Regions from separate parts of the Homo sapiens genome. Here region 2 is linked to region 1. The links are contacts of gene promoters, found by promoter capture Hi-C in blood cells and fetal thymus (Javierre and others, 2016). All regions are on one chromosome and are shown on one strand. The core of a region is centred on a gene start or on the middle of the fragment in contact, and the rest is flanking DNA. Distances in the headings are between cores, read along the strand shown. Region 1 holds the start of CEACAM5 (CEA cell adhesion molecule 5). Region 2 overlaps DMRTC2 (DMRT like family C2).

Region 1 (6,122 bases), core at 1-2,500:
TGAGTTCCTATTACATATCCTATAATTTGACGGTTGCCATCCACTCTTTCACCTTTGTACCAGCTGTAGCCAAAAAGATGCTGGGGCAGATTGTGGACAAGTAGAAGCACCTCCTTCCCCTCTGCGACATTGAACGGCGTGGATTCAATAGTGAGCTTGGCAGTGGTGGGCGGGTTCCAGAAGGTTAGAAGTGAGGCTAGGAGAGAGCAGAGAGCATCGGTCAATATTGGGACCTATGCATTAGGGTGGAAAAATGGGGTCCTGGGTCCTGAGCAGGTCTCTTCATCCCCCAGCCCTGGAGTGAGTGAGTGTGTGTGTGTGTGTGTGTGTGTGTGTGTCCTACTAGGTCAAGGTCAGCAGTGTGTCTCCTATTTCCTTAGCACCTCTGACCTTGGCATTTCCCTGTGTGGAATCTGCTTTTCCAGGGGTCTTCACGGCTCCCTCCCCATTGCCTTCAGGTCCTGCTCACATCAGGGCATTCTTGGGAGATCCCTTCCCTGACACCTCCTCTAGAGACCCTGGGTCTTCCTTTTCTGACCTTTCCCTGCTCTATTCCCTCCAGGGCTCTTGTCAACACCTGACCTCACATTCTAGATCTCTTTGTATGTCTGTCTTCCTCCCCATGAGAGCATGAGCTTCATGAGGGCAGGGATTTGTGTGATCTTGGTTGCACCCCAGTGCCTGGGACAGGCTGCAGATTCCTGTGGATGAGTTCATGAGGGTTCCCAGGGCCCTCCACAGCCTGGGGCTTATTTTCCAATGTCCGCGGTAGGCGGATGAGGACAGTGTTTCATGCCCTGGTTATGTTTTTATTTAAAGTGTCATCTGATGCAGTTATTATGATTTTTAAAAACGTAGTGGCCAGTGACAATTAACTAGGAAAATAGAACTCTTGAGGTTTTCCTGCCCCTTTCCAATTCCAGTTCAATTTGATTTTTCTGGTGTGACTCCTGTCCCTCTCTGATGTCCTCTTCCCTATTCAGGCTCCAACAGGAGCCCTCTGTCCGTCTCACAGCCCTGTCCTACCCAGGAGACCCCAGCTCCCTCCTCCCACCCTCTCCCAGGTTGTCCTCCCTTCACCTGTGAGCAGGAGCCTCTGCCAGGGGATGCACCATCTGTGGGGAGGGGCCGAGGGAGACTCCATGGTCTCTGCTGTCTGCTCTGTCCTCCTCTGTGGAGAAGAGCTTGAGTTCCAGGAACGTTTTGTCAAGGCTGCTGTGACTGTCTGGTCTGCTGTCCTTCCTCCCTCTGCCCTGAGTCTCTTCCTAGGGCAGGAGTACTTCTCAGCATCACGTGGGTCATGGGTGTGGTCTTTATTCAGGTGTCCTCTGTCCCCTCCCCTCTCATTTCTGCCTCTTTTGTCCCTCCTCTTTTTTCCCTTCTATTTTCAGTTCCTCAGACAAATCTTTTCGGCAAGGTGGATGGACCCCCATCCCCTGGGAGGACAACCTGTCTTCCCCAGTGCTGACCTCTGCTGTGTTCTGTCCTTGGGTCTGTCACACCAGGGGGATTATTTTCCTTTGTGACAGAGAAACCCAGCAGGGTCCCGGGTCTCCCCATGCTCTCCAGGGCTCTGGGAAGGTGGGATGATGCCCAACAGGAAGGTGACAGAGGTGGCTCTGGGGGCTAGAAAAAGGCTCACTGGGTGGTGGCTGGGGAGGGACCAGCCCTCTGTCTCCAGTACCACCAACCCCGCCACTGACCCAGGGATGGAGACCCAGGCCCAGAGGTCTCAGGAGTCCCCAGATCCTGCATGTGGAGGGGGAGGTGTCTTGTGTGTCCTGGAAAGAGAGGACTGTGGTGGAGGGAGGTGGGTGACTCTGGGCTCTGCTGTCCTTGGGGAAGGCTCCAGGGGGACCCTCCCTCTCCGTGTCTGTTGGCTGAGCTGCGGCTCAGGGCCTGTCCATGTTCTCCCTGACAGTCCTGGGTGGTCTCTGTCCTCTGCGAGGCTGACTGTCCTGTGATCACCCCACCTTCCCCATGGTGGTACCAGGAGGGAGTCTGGAGTTGCACAGGGACCCCTGGCAGAACAGGGTCCTCATAGGACCCAGAAAGGAACAGAGCAGGTATGTGGGAGAGATCAGAAGGGTCTGTTGGAGCAAGGGATGGAAACCAGGCTCCACCTCCACTTCCTTAGCAAAGCCAGGTTCCTGTCCAGGGGAATCCGTTTCCTGAGTGATGTCTGTGTGCAATGTCACCCCCTGGAGGGCAAGAGGAGACCTCCGGCCTTGTCTGGAACTGCCCTAGGGATGCTGACCAGGGTCGACGTGGTGTGAGCTGACCCTGAACTCTGGATTAGGCTGCAGGGTCAGGCCGGAGGATCTATTCCCTGCAGGCCTCTGTCCTCCCTTCTGAAGCTCTGGGGGTTGAGGCCTCATTCCTGGGGCAGCCGCGGGCACTTGCTGGCCTCCTCCCATGCTGGTGCCAGTGCCCCTGTGTCCACATGGAACAGACTCTGACTGCTGGGGGCCACACGGAGGTGATATGCTTCTTTTTAGAGATCTCCCACACATTTAACCAGTATTTATGGAGCATCTGTTCCGTGTCAGGCACTGGGCTGGGCCCTGGGATTCCACAGAGAGCAGGACAGACGTGGTCCCTGTCACAGAGTTTTCCTGTAACCGGGAGACAGGCGCTCAGTGAACTTCATGGGACTGAGGAGTTAATGGTAATGACAGGGCTGTGAGGTGACAGCATAGGGGGCGTCGGAGCCTGTGAGAGACTGAGCTGTCCTGGAGATCACAGGGAGCTGCCCTGGGAGACGCCCTTTCAGCTGAGCCCGGGGAAGGAGGGGGTGTAGGGGACAGGAGCTGCCTGCAGAGGGCAGCCGACAGGCCTCAAGTGGGCGGCCGACAAGCCTCAGGTGGGCGGCCGATAGGCTGCAGGGAGGAGCTGACAGAGTCCGTGTGAGGAGCTCGGAGGGCGAGGAGGACGTGGGCCGAGGTGACCCGGGTGAGGGTGGACCCTGCTGGGCTGTGGGCCCGGCTGAGGGAGGTCAGCAGCCCCTGGGGAGGCTCCAGGGTGGGAGGAACTCTGCCGCCCTCTGGTGGACAGGAGGGAAGTGGGGACAGCAGCGGCCCCAGACCAGGCTGTTTTACTCAACACTGATCTCTAGACATTGAACACGGGTCATGCACATGTTATGCCAAAGTGCTACCAGGTTTCAGCTCGGTGAGCCCCAGTCTCTGTGGCTACAAGTGTACTGTCCTCCCTCTTTCACAATCAGATGTCCCCAAATGCAGATTTTTGTCACCTTTTGTGACTTTGCTTTTGTCGGCAGGAGGCTGCGCTGTGCATGCTCCCAGGGGCAGTGATGTCTGGGGCTAAGCGTGTGCGGGGATCTGGGAGTAGAAGATTGTATTAGTCTGTCCTCGCATTGCTATAAAGAAATACCTGAGACTGGGTAATTTATAAAGAAAAGAGGTTTAATTCGCTCATCATTCTGCAGTTGTACAGGAAGCATAGTGGCTTCTGCTCCTGGGGAGGCCTCAGAAAACTTACAATCATTCTGGACGGTGAAGGGGAAACAGGAACGTCTTACATGGCAGAGCATGAGTAAGAGAGAGAGAGAGAGAGGGGAGAGGTGCTACACACTTTTAAACAACCAGATCATGTGAGATCTCTATCACAGAAACAGCATCAAAGCAGAAAATCCACCCGCATTATCCAATCACTTCTCACAAGGCCCCACCTCCAACATTGGGGTTTACAATTTGACATGAGATTTGGGCGGGGACATAGATCCAAATCATATTTGAGAGAGAGGGGCATGAGGAGAAGGTGAATGTTGGGGTAGCAGAGAGGAGCAGGGACAAGTCAACCTCACTTCTCACTCCCTGGGGACCAGAACAGGAGAGCCCGACTCTGGGGGCACAGCACCACACACTCTGTGTGTCCGTGCATCAGGGGAGGTGGGAGCTGCTTCTCTGTTCATGGGACCTGGCCTCACCTGCTGAGATGTCTTCACACTTAGTCCCATCCTGGGCTGCAGCCCCACAGAGCCTGTGTCCTCCTCTCCTCTCCTGCCCATTCCTGGATTTTTCTTCCTGAACCATCTTCTCCCATCTGTGGCTTCACCTGCTCCCGTTTCAGGCAGCTGCCCCTGGATCATTGCCCTGTCACCATCTCTGGGCTCACTGGCCTCTGCCATTTGTTCTGAGACTTGAGCCCTGAGCCCTGAGCCCTGTGAGGGAGGAAGAGTGAAGTGGGGTGGGCGCTGTCCAAGGTGCTGCCCTCTCTGGACAGCTTGAGTGAGGGACCCTGATGTGTCACCTGGGAGGAGGCTCCGGGAGGGAGCTGTGTCAGGGATGCCTGGATCAGGGGGATGGGGCACCTACACCAGGGTGAGCTGGACCTGTGGACTGCAGGAACCCTGCTCTGTGTCATCCATCAGCTCCTCGAGCCCCGTCTTCCTCTCTGTACCTGATTCTCTGGTGTGATCCCTGAGCCCGCGCTAGAGTCCTCCTCACAATGCCTAATGGTCAGATCTATGTGTGGAGACCTAACGGTGGGGGGGTGGGGAGGTCTCGTGTGCTCACACAGAGTGCCCTGGGGACAGGCTTTATGACCTCCCTTGTCCCAATCCCACAACAAGATCTGGACAGTGGGCCGGGTCAGATAAAGTCAGAATCCACGAGAAGGGTGTGTGTCCTGGCAGTGCTGAGGTTTGTGCCCCCAGCTTTACTCTCAGTCTGTTTGCAGATACATTTATGTTGTGCACCTGCAGTTGGCTGGGAAGCCTCATGTCCTTAAATCCTTAGTTATTCCTGTGCAGGTCATGAGGGGCCTGTACCTGGGTACAATGAGGACTATCTGATTAGGGTGGGTGTATTTTACATGGTGGGCTTTCCCTCTCCCAGTGTTTCTTGGATGTAGTCAAATACATAAGATAAAATATGCCACATTAATCATGTTAAGTGTACAATTAAATGCCGTTAATTATATTCACAATATTCTACATCCTCACCACTATATTTTTTTTTCCAGAACATTTTCATCATCTCACATAGAAACTTCATACTATTAATCATTAACTCTCCACCTTCCCCTGCCCCTAGCCCTTGGTAGCCACTGATGCTATCTTTCTCTTTTTTTTTGAGACAGAGTCTCATTCTGTCACCCAGGCTGGAGTGCAGTGGTGTGATCTCGGCTCACTGCAACCTCTGCCTCCCGGGTTCAAGCAATTCTCCTGCCTCGGCCTCCCAGAGGCACCTAGGTGACCTAACTCTTAAGAGCCTGGGGCCGGCAGGTGGGTGTCCTAGGCATAAATGGTGCCCACTGGACTGGAGGAAGGTGAGAAGCCATGGGTATTCCATGTCTTCTCCCAGCTTCCCAGCTCCTGGGTTGGTGCTGTCCTGCAGTAGGCAGTGGGTAGATGGGCATGGCTGCACGTTAGGCTGGGAAACATGTCGTCCTCTCAGACATTGTCACTGCAGAAGGAGGATTCTGTTCACAGGCCTGGTATGGGCATATGGGAGAGACCACCCTGTTCTCATCAGGGGCTTAGACACTGGTGTTCCCACTCCTGGTGCTGCCTCCTGCTTTCCCTGCCCTGGCCCTCAAGGAAGAGCGGCTCCTGGTCAAAGCTCCATCTCTCTCTCTGAGGCTTCAGCATGGTCTCATTGGTGCAGGGGTCTGGGTAAACCTCAGAGAGAGAGGCTCTGAAGAGCGGGGCACCTGCTGGGGATGCAGAAGGGTCCCCACTATGCTTAAGGGGAGTAATCCTGAGGGTCCCAAGGCTCCTCACCACTACCAGGTGCCAAGAAACTCCCAGCAAATTGGGGCTGCCTTGTGGCGAAGCACCTCCAAGCCTCGCTGCCTGCCATGTGCAGTGATTGGTGGATCCCAGTTAGGGGCATCTTGGCAGGTGGTCACAGATTCAGGGCTGGACTTGGTGCTCACAGTCCATATGTGTTGTAGACCCCAGGCAGGGTTCTGTGGCATGGTTTTGGATGTTCACAGGTATCTGCCCTGGAGAAGTGGGCAGTAATTTGACTTCCAGAAGTTCTTGACATCTGCAGATCCGGGCGACAGCCAAGTGTTCAAGGTTCCAGTGACCACTGGTGTGAGGGCACAAGGTAAGCATCAGGCCACCAGTGAGGCTCACCACCCTCCAGGCTGGT
Region 2 (5,876 bases), core at 687-3,186, 140 kb before region 1:
GTGGGAAAGGGGGCAGTATAGGAAACAGTGCTCACAGTCTATTATCTGTAATCTCTCAGAGCCAAGAAGAGGCCAGGAGCCTACTGGCTCCCTACAACCACAGGTGAAGAGTGCTGCACCTGAACAGGCAACAACTTAGGAGCATGAGCAACTCTTAAATCTGCTCTTTTCCCTAAGACTGACATCTGCAGAAGCTCTGGCCCTTTCCCTCAGGCACTAATGGGGGGCCCTAACGATTTGAAAGACAAAGTTGGCCTGGCCAACTGGTGTGAAAAGCCTTGCCCAGGCTGGGTACTGAAGGCCGGGTACTGGAGGAGAGGTGAAGGAGAGGTGGCCTCTAGTCTACTCCTTCCCCCAATCTCCATCACTTCCTCTTTTCCTCCCCTTTTCATGCCATCCTTTAACCCCAAATTATACTTTCTCTTTTACCCTTCTCAGCTCTGTGACCTTGGTGTACAGAGGACCCTTGGTCAGTGCTGAGTAGCAGAATCTCAGCCATGTTGCATGTTGCAGTGCTTCCTTTCTCTGTGACTTTGTGGCCCTGGTCATCTGTCACTAGGAAAGCATGGCACACCAAGTCTTAGGCAGGTCTATTAAGGAGCAATCATATATCTAAGTTATAGCTAAGGGGAGGGAAGAAGGGTGTGAAGCCGACTTTGGTCTCCTGATATCTCAGTATCTCCTGAGAAGTGCTGCAGGTTTGTTACTCTGTACTCTGCTAGGGAGGAGAAGAAACCCACCCTCTCAAAATCCCAAATAAGAAATAACAAGTTGTAATTGGATGTCATCACCATCAATCATCTTGAGTAAAACAAGGGGTGTAGGTAACATCAGGAAAAAGAATCAGTGATCAAGCACATCCCTTGAGCCCCTTCTAAGGGTGGGAATGGGAAGGGGGTCTCCAGGCTTCATGTCTTTGGAATAGCTCAACAGGTTTTCCTATGTACGGAATGGTTCAAGGAGAAGGACTTGACACCAGAGGACTGAGAAACAAATGCAGGTAAGATCTTATTCTTAATGATATCTTGAGGAGAAAAATAAAAGACTTTTTTGAAAAACTCTTGACTTGTATGTATCTTCTGGAGTCCTGATTGGGGAAAGGAGTGGTGCATCTTTCATTCTATGCTTTTATTTATTTGTTTTTATAGAGACAGGGTCTCCCCGTGTTACTCAGGCTGGTCTCAAACTCCTGGGCTCAAGCGATCCTCCTGCCTTGGCCTCCCAAAGTGCTGGGATTACAGGTGTGAGCTATCACACCCGGCCCAATGCTTTATAAACATTATTAACTAATTTGGAGCCTGGCAAAGAGAAGGAACCCTCCTCTGATCTCTGCCTAGAAATTTCCCCTAAAACACTTGGGCAAGTTACTTTACCTCTTTAAGCTTGTTTCTTCACTTGTAAAATGGGAACCATCCTGCATAACTTCCAGGGTTGCTGTGAAGATATGTGAATCAAATGGAGTGGGCACTCAATAAATGGTAATAAATGTTTCTTAACCTTTTATGGATCCTTCGAAACTCAGACACGTGAACCTCCCTAGTTGAGGAAAAACTTGTGATAAAGACTAACTCGATTCTTTCTATTCTGGTTAGCCTCAATTTCCCCATCTGGAAAATGTATCAAATTGGTATTCCACTGGCCAAAGCTAGCCTGAAAATATGTTTTATTTGGCACGTATAGAATTTAAAGAAGAAAACTGAGCCAACATTTGAAAATTAAGATGTTTTACATGGAAATCTAGTTTTCCAGTTTCTCTTAAAAAATCAGAAGATGGAGCAACACTGAGTCCACATTCCCGCCTGGCAGTAATCTGCTAGGGCCAAAAGGAGGCTGCTCCTTAGGCAAGGCATCCATTCTCAGTTTGCCAGGGTCCATCTGGCCTTCTTTACTCATTTATTTGATCTGCTCAGCCCTGTAGGCATTTCGATTTGTAGCCCCTCTAGACAGCTGGAAACTGTCTATGCCTGGCACAGAGCGGGCAATTAATCAGTGAATCCCCCATTATTTCTTTACATCATTTTTTTTTATTTGGACAAAGAAAAAAATCCAAGTTTGTTTTCATCTATGGTAGCTATTGGATAACAGATTTTTCACTTTGAGAAGCGAAATGAACAAGTCCTTTCTGTCAGTCAGGATAGACTAGGTTAGGCTGTGGTAACACTCTCCAAATCTCAGTGGCTTACAACAACAAAGGTTTATTTCTTGCTTACTCACACAAACCTAGACACAAAATGAAAACACTCTCCTGTTTTCACATGCATGGAGACAGACATGAATGCATAGGCATTTACAGAATCATGGAATCCTGGGATGTAAACTCATGCAAACACGTTTATAGATACTGGTCAGCTTAAATAGCACAACTCTCTCTTTATTGGGGATTTCAAGAGATCCCAGGACCCAAGAAGGGTACAAGAATATCCACTGTCAGCCAAGGAAATGCCCACACTACCAAAGGAACTGAAAGCTAATGAAGCACCTGAAAGCTTAAACAAACAAACAAACAAACAAACAAAAAAGCCCGAAGCTTGTACTACATTAAATTCCATGCATAAATCCTTAAGTAAGACACTAAATATACAGTGCCAGCAGGCTGTCACCTCCCTGCCATAGCAAGACAGCCTCCATCTCTGGGTTTCTAGCTCAGGAGGGAGATGGACCCCAGACGGCCAATATGCAGAGCAACAGAGGGGGCTGGGCTGGGTCGAAGACAGGGGCCAACAGGCTGGAATCCTCTTCCTCCAGCAGGAGCTACAGGCAAGAAGGAAGGGGCAGGATCAGGTCACACCTGTTTTTCCTTCTAGCAACCCCCTCTTTTTACCGAATCCAATCCAGGCCTCATCATTGTTCTCCTGGATTATTTCACAGACCTCCTTGCTAATTTTCCCACCTCCAGTCTTGCCTCCTCCAAACCGTCCATCAAAGCCACCCACTTGTCTTTCTAAAGCTCAGGGTCTCTGAATTTGTCCTTGCTTAGTTCAGAAACGTTCCCTGGCTCCCCTTCACATACAGTTGCTGTTCTAGACACCTAAGCCTGGCATGCCAGATCTCCACCATCAGAAGCCTCTCCAGCCTCCTTTCCCTCTGTTCTAGCATTTCCTCCAGGCCAGTCTGCCCAATCCACTATTTGGACAAGAGAATTCGCAGCTTTCCCTGTCTGTCCCCCTAGGTGTTTCTCACTCTTCAAGGTTCCTCCAATCTTCTTCAGGTTTGTCACTGAGCCTTGTGAAGGCATCCAATTTCCCTAACTAGAACGTAAGCTCCTTGAAGGCACTTATCAGACCTCCTCCCAGGCCAGACCCCACTTCAGACTTCAGCAGGCAGCCTGGGTCCAGAGACAGAGCATTGGGTTCCCTGCCACTGTCTCACTATATGCCCTTGGGCAAGTCCCTGCCTTTCTCAGTGCCCCACTTTCCTTGATATCAAGAAATTTGCTGTCGAGTGCCAAACTGATAAAAAGGATTCACTGAATAACTCTCAACTGCAATCCCAGGGGCCAGGCTGAGGAGCTTGGGGTCCTGGGCCTGAAGACGTTCAACCTGTCGACCCCCTCATCTCCTTGGTTAGTCCCTGTGTACTTCAGTGATCTCCATTTCCCAGCCATCCCTATCCATCCTCTCCTTTCATGGCCCACCTGGTGGGCCACAGGGGTGAAGCAGGGAGATCCAGGCAGGGTTGGGGGGCACAGAAGGGGTCACACGAGGAGCCTGGGATGAATCTTTCAGCCCCACGAGGGCTTCAGCTGCCTCTTGCTGCAGCTGCCACTCTGAGGGGCCAGATGTCCGGGCCAGGCACGAGGCTCCAGAGGCCTGCAAGGGAAAGGGAGACAAGCAGACTGGGAACCCCCGCTTCTGCCCACCCTCTAAGTGTTCCTCAGCCCCTGCTTCCTTCAGTTTCCTGCTTTTTCCTTCCCCAGGCTCAACCTCCTCCCAGGGCCCTAGATCCCACTTCTTTCCCAGGACCTGTGGCTGTAGCTGAAGAGGGTCTGGGGTGCCACAGGGCTGGAGTATCAGAGTTGAGTGTCTAGAAACAAGGAGAGAAGATGCCAGGGTGGTTAAACAGATGAACAGACATGCACACATTGAAAGAGGGGCAGGATTTTGCCATGTTTTGATCTGGGAATCTGAGAGCCTGCTGGGCCATTAAGCTGTGTCTTGACTTATTTTGTTTTCAGTAAAGTAAAAATCCTTGCCAGTTTTTCCTCCCAGGGCTACTGTGAGGATTATGGGAAATCACTAGTGTCTTTTTTTTTTTTGAGACAGGCTCTTGCTCTGTCACCTAGGCTGGAGTGCAGTGGCGGTGTGATCATGGCTCACCATAAGCTTGAACTCCTGGGCCTACACCATCTTCCCACCTCAGCCTCCTAAGTAGCCAGGAAAACAGGTGTGCACCACCATTCCTGGCTGTTTTAATTTTTTTGTAGAGACGAAGTCTCGCTCAGTTACTCAGGTGGTCTCAAACTCTTGGCCTCAAGTAATCCTCCCACCTCAGCCTCCCAAAGTGTTGGGATTACAGGTGTGAGCCACCAGGCCCCACCTGATGCCGGTTTTTAAAAAAACACCTAGAAGACTGAGATTACTGTCCCTGACCTATCAGAGTCTGGGTCCCATTCCCCCAGTTCCCCAGTCACCATAGAACTTGAAGGAGAGCTTGGCTCACCTTTGGGAAGCTTTTCCTAATGGCCTCTGGCCCCTCTCCTGGGTCTCTGAGGCTCTCATCATCTCTGCCCCCCATATCAGCAGGCAATCTTACCCCATCAAATCTGTCTAAGCAGATATAACAGCTACCATTAAAGAGTCTGTGCTAGGTCTATTCCATACATTATTGCTAATTCTTACAACAATCAGAGAGGTAAGTAATAGTGTCTCCAATTTACTGATAGAAAAACAGGCTCAGAGAGGTAAAGATAATTGTCCAAAGCATCACAGCTAGGAAATGGCAGTACTAGGAGAGCTCTGCCTTGCCTATTAGTCAGAGACCTTTTCATCTTCATTATCCACTGTGGTTGGACACCAGCACTGTGGTTGGACACAGCACAGGCTTAGGCTTATGATACACATCCTTCTCTCCCTACTCACGTGCGGGGCTGGCTAGGGGGCCCTTGGGGCTCTCCAGAAAGAGGAGCTGTCAGTACTGGGTGAGATCCTGGGCAGGTGGTGAAGGGCCCATGAGTGGGCAGCTGGAGGGAGGTGCCAGGGTCAAAGCCTAATAAGAATAAAAGAATGCAGAGTGTATAGGGGCCAAGGTCATAGTTTCTTTCCTCCCTCTCCCCACCTATGCTTTCTTCCTCTTCCCTCTCCAATATGTGGCAGATTGGCACTCAAATATATGTTGAATGAATGTTGAATTATCATCTTACCAGGGAAGGGAGGCAGAGAGACAGCAGGTTCTTGGTACAGCAGGCGGCACACCACTGGTGGTGGCATGGAGAAGCCTGGAGGCAGCCAGTGTCCAGGGACCCAAGGGCCAGGAGGCACCGGAGTCCAGGACAAGGGCGAGGCTTCCGGGGGATGGCTGAGCAGCAGAGGCCCACAGGAGTTCTGCAGGGGCAGAGGGCACAGGCTGGAGTTGGGTACAAGGCTGGAAAAGGATTGAGTGTATTCTGGGATACGGGCAGAACCCCAAAACTTTGGGGCTGGGAGGCCCTCGTTTTCCCCTCATTTTGCCTAGAGAAGAGCAGTGATTTGACTAGATTACATAGCAAACCAGGGCTGGGGCTAGAACCCAGGTGTTGAGGGCACAGAAGAAAGGGTCTGGGTAGGAACTAGGGTGGGGGACACTTTCTCAGGCCCCAGCCTCTCCTTACCTTCCCGGGGGGTGTCGGTGCCAGCAGGACTGCCCCATGGGGGGTCTGAGGCTGGGGTGCTATGTTCTCC

Evidence for each region. The method cuts DNA at HindIII sites, captures the fragments that hold promoters and counts their contacts. A CHiCAGO score of 5 or more calls a contact.
Region 2: a contact is called between a fragment that was not itself captured here and the fragment with the promoter of CEACAM5 in region 1, in 1 of 17 cell types (M1 macrophages). The highest score is 5.1, in M1 macrophages.

The regions. Positions count from the first base shown.
Region 1 is chr19:41,703,754-41,709,875 of GRCh38, reverse strand. It overlaps CEACAM5 (CEA cell adhesion molecule 5), which reads right to left and starts at 1,250. Exons shown (of 10, transcript NM_004363.6): 1 at 1,081-1,250; 2 at 1-196. The coding sequence starts at 1,144. RefSeq lists silencers at 2,860-2,909, 2,940-2,989, 3,010-3,129. The HindIII fragment of the contact is 18,236 bases long and covers 1-6,122 here.
Region 2 is chr19:41,848,459-41,854,334 of GRCh38, reverse strand. It overlaps DMRTC2 (DMRT like family C2), which reads right to left. Exons shown (of 9, transcript NM_001040283.3): 4 at 5,807-5,876; 5 at 5,360-5,540; 6 at 5,079-5,205; 7 at 3,963-4,023; 8 at 3,635-3,809; 9 at 2,002-2,751. The coding sequence ends at 2,639. Among named protein-coding and RNA genes, the nearest start is that of DMRTC2, 6.4 kb to the right of the region's middle. The HindIII fragment of the contact is 1,104 bases long and covers 1,385-2,488 here.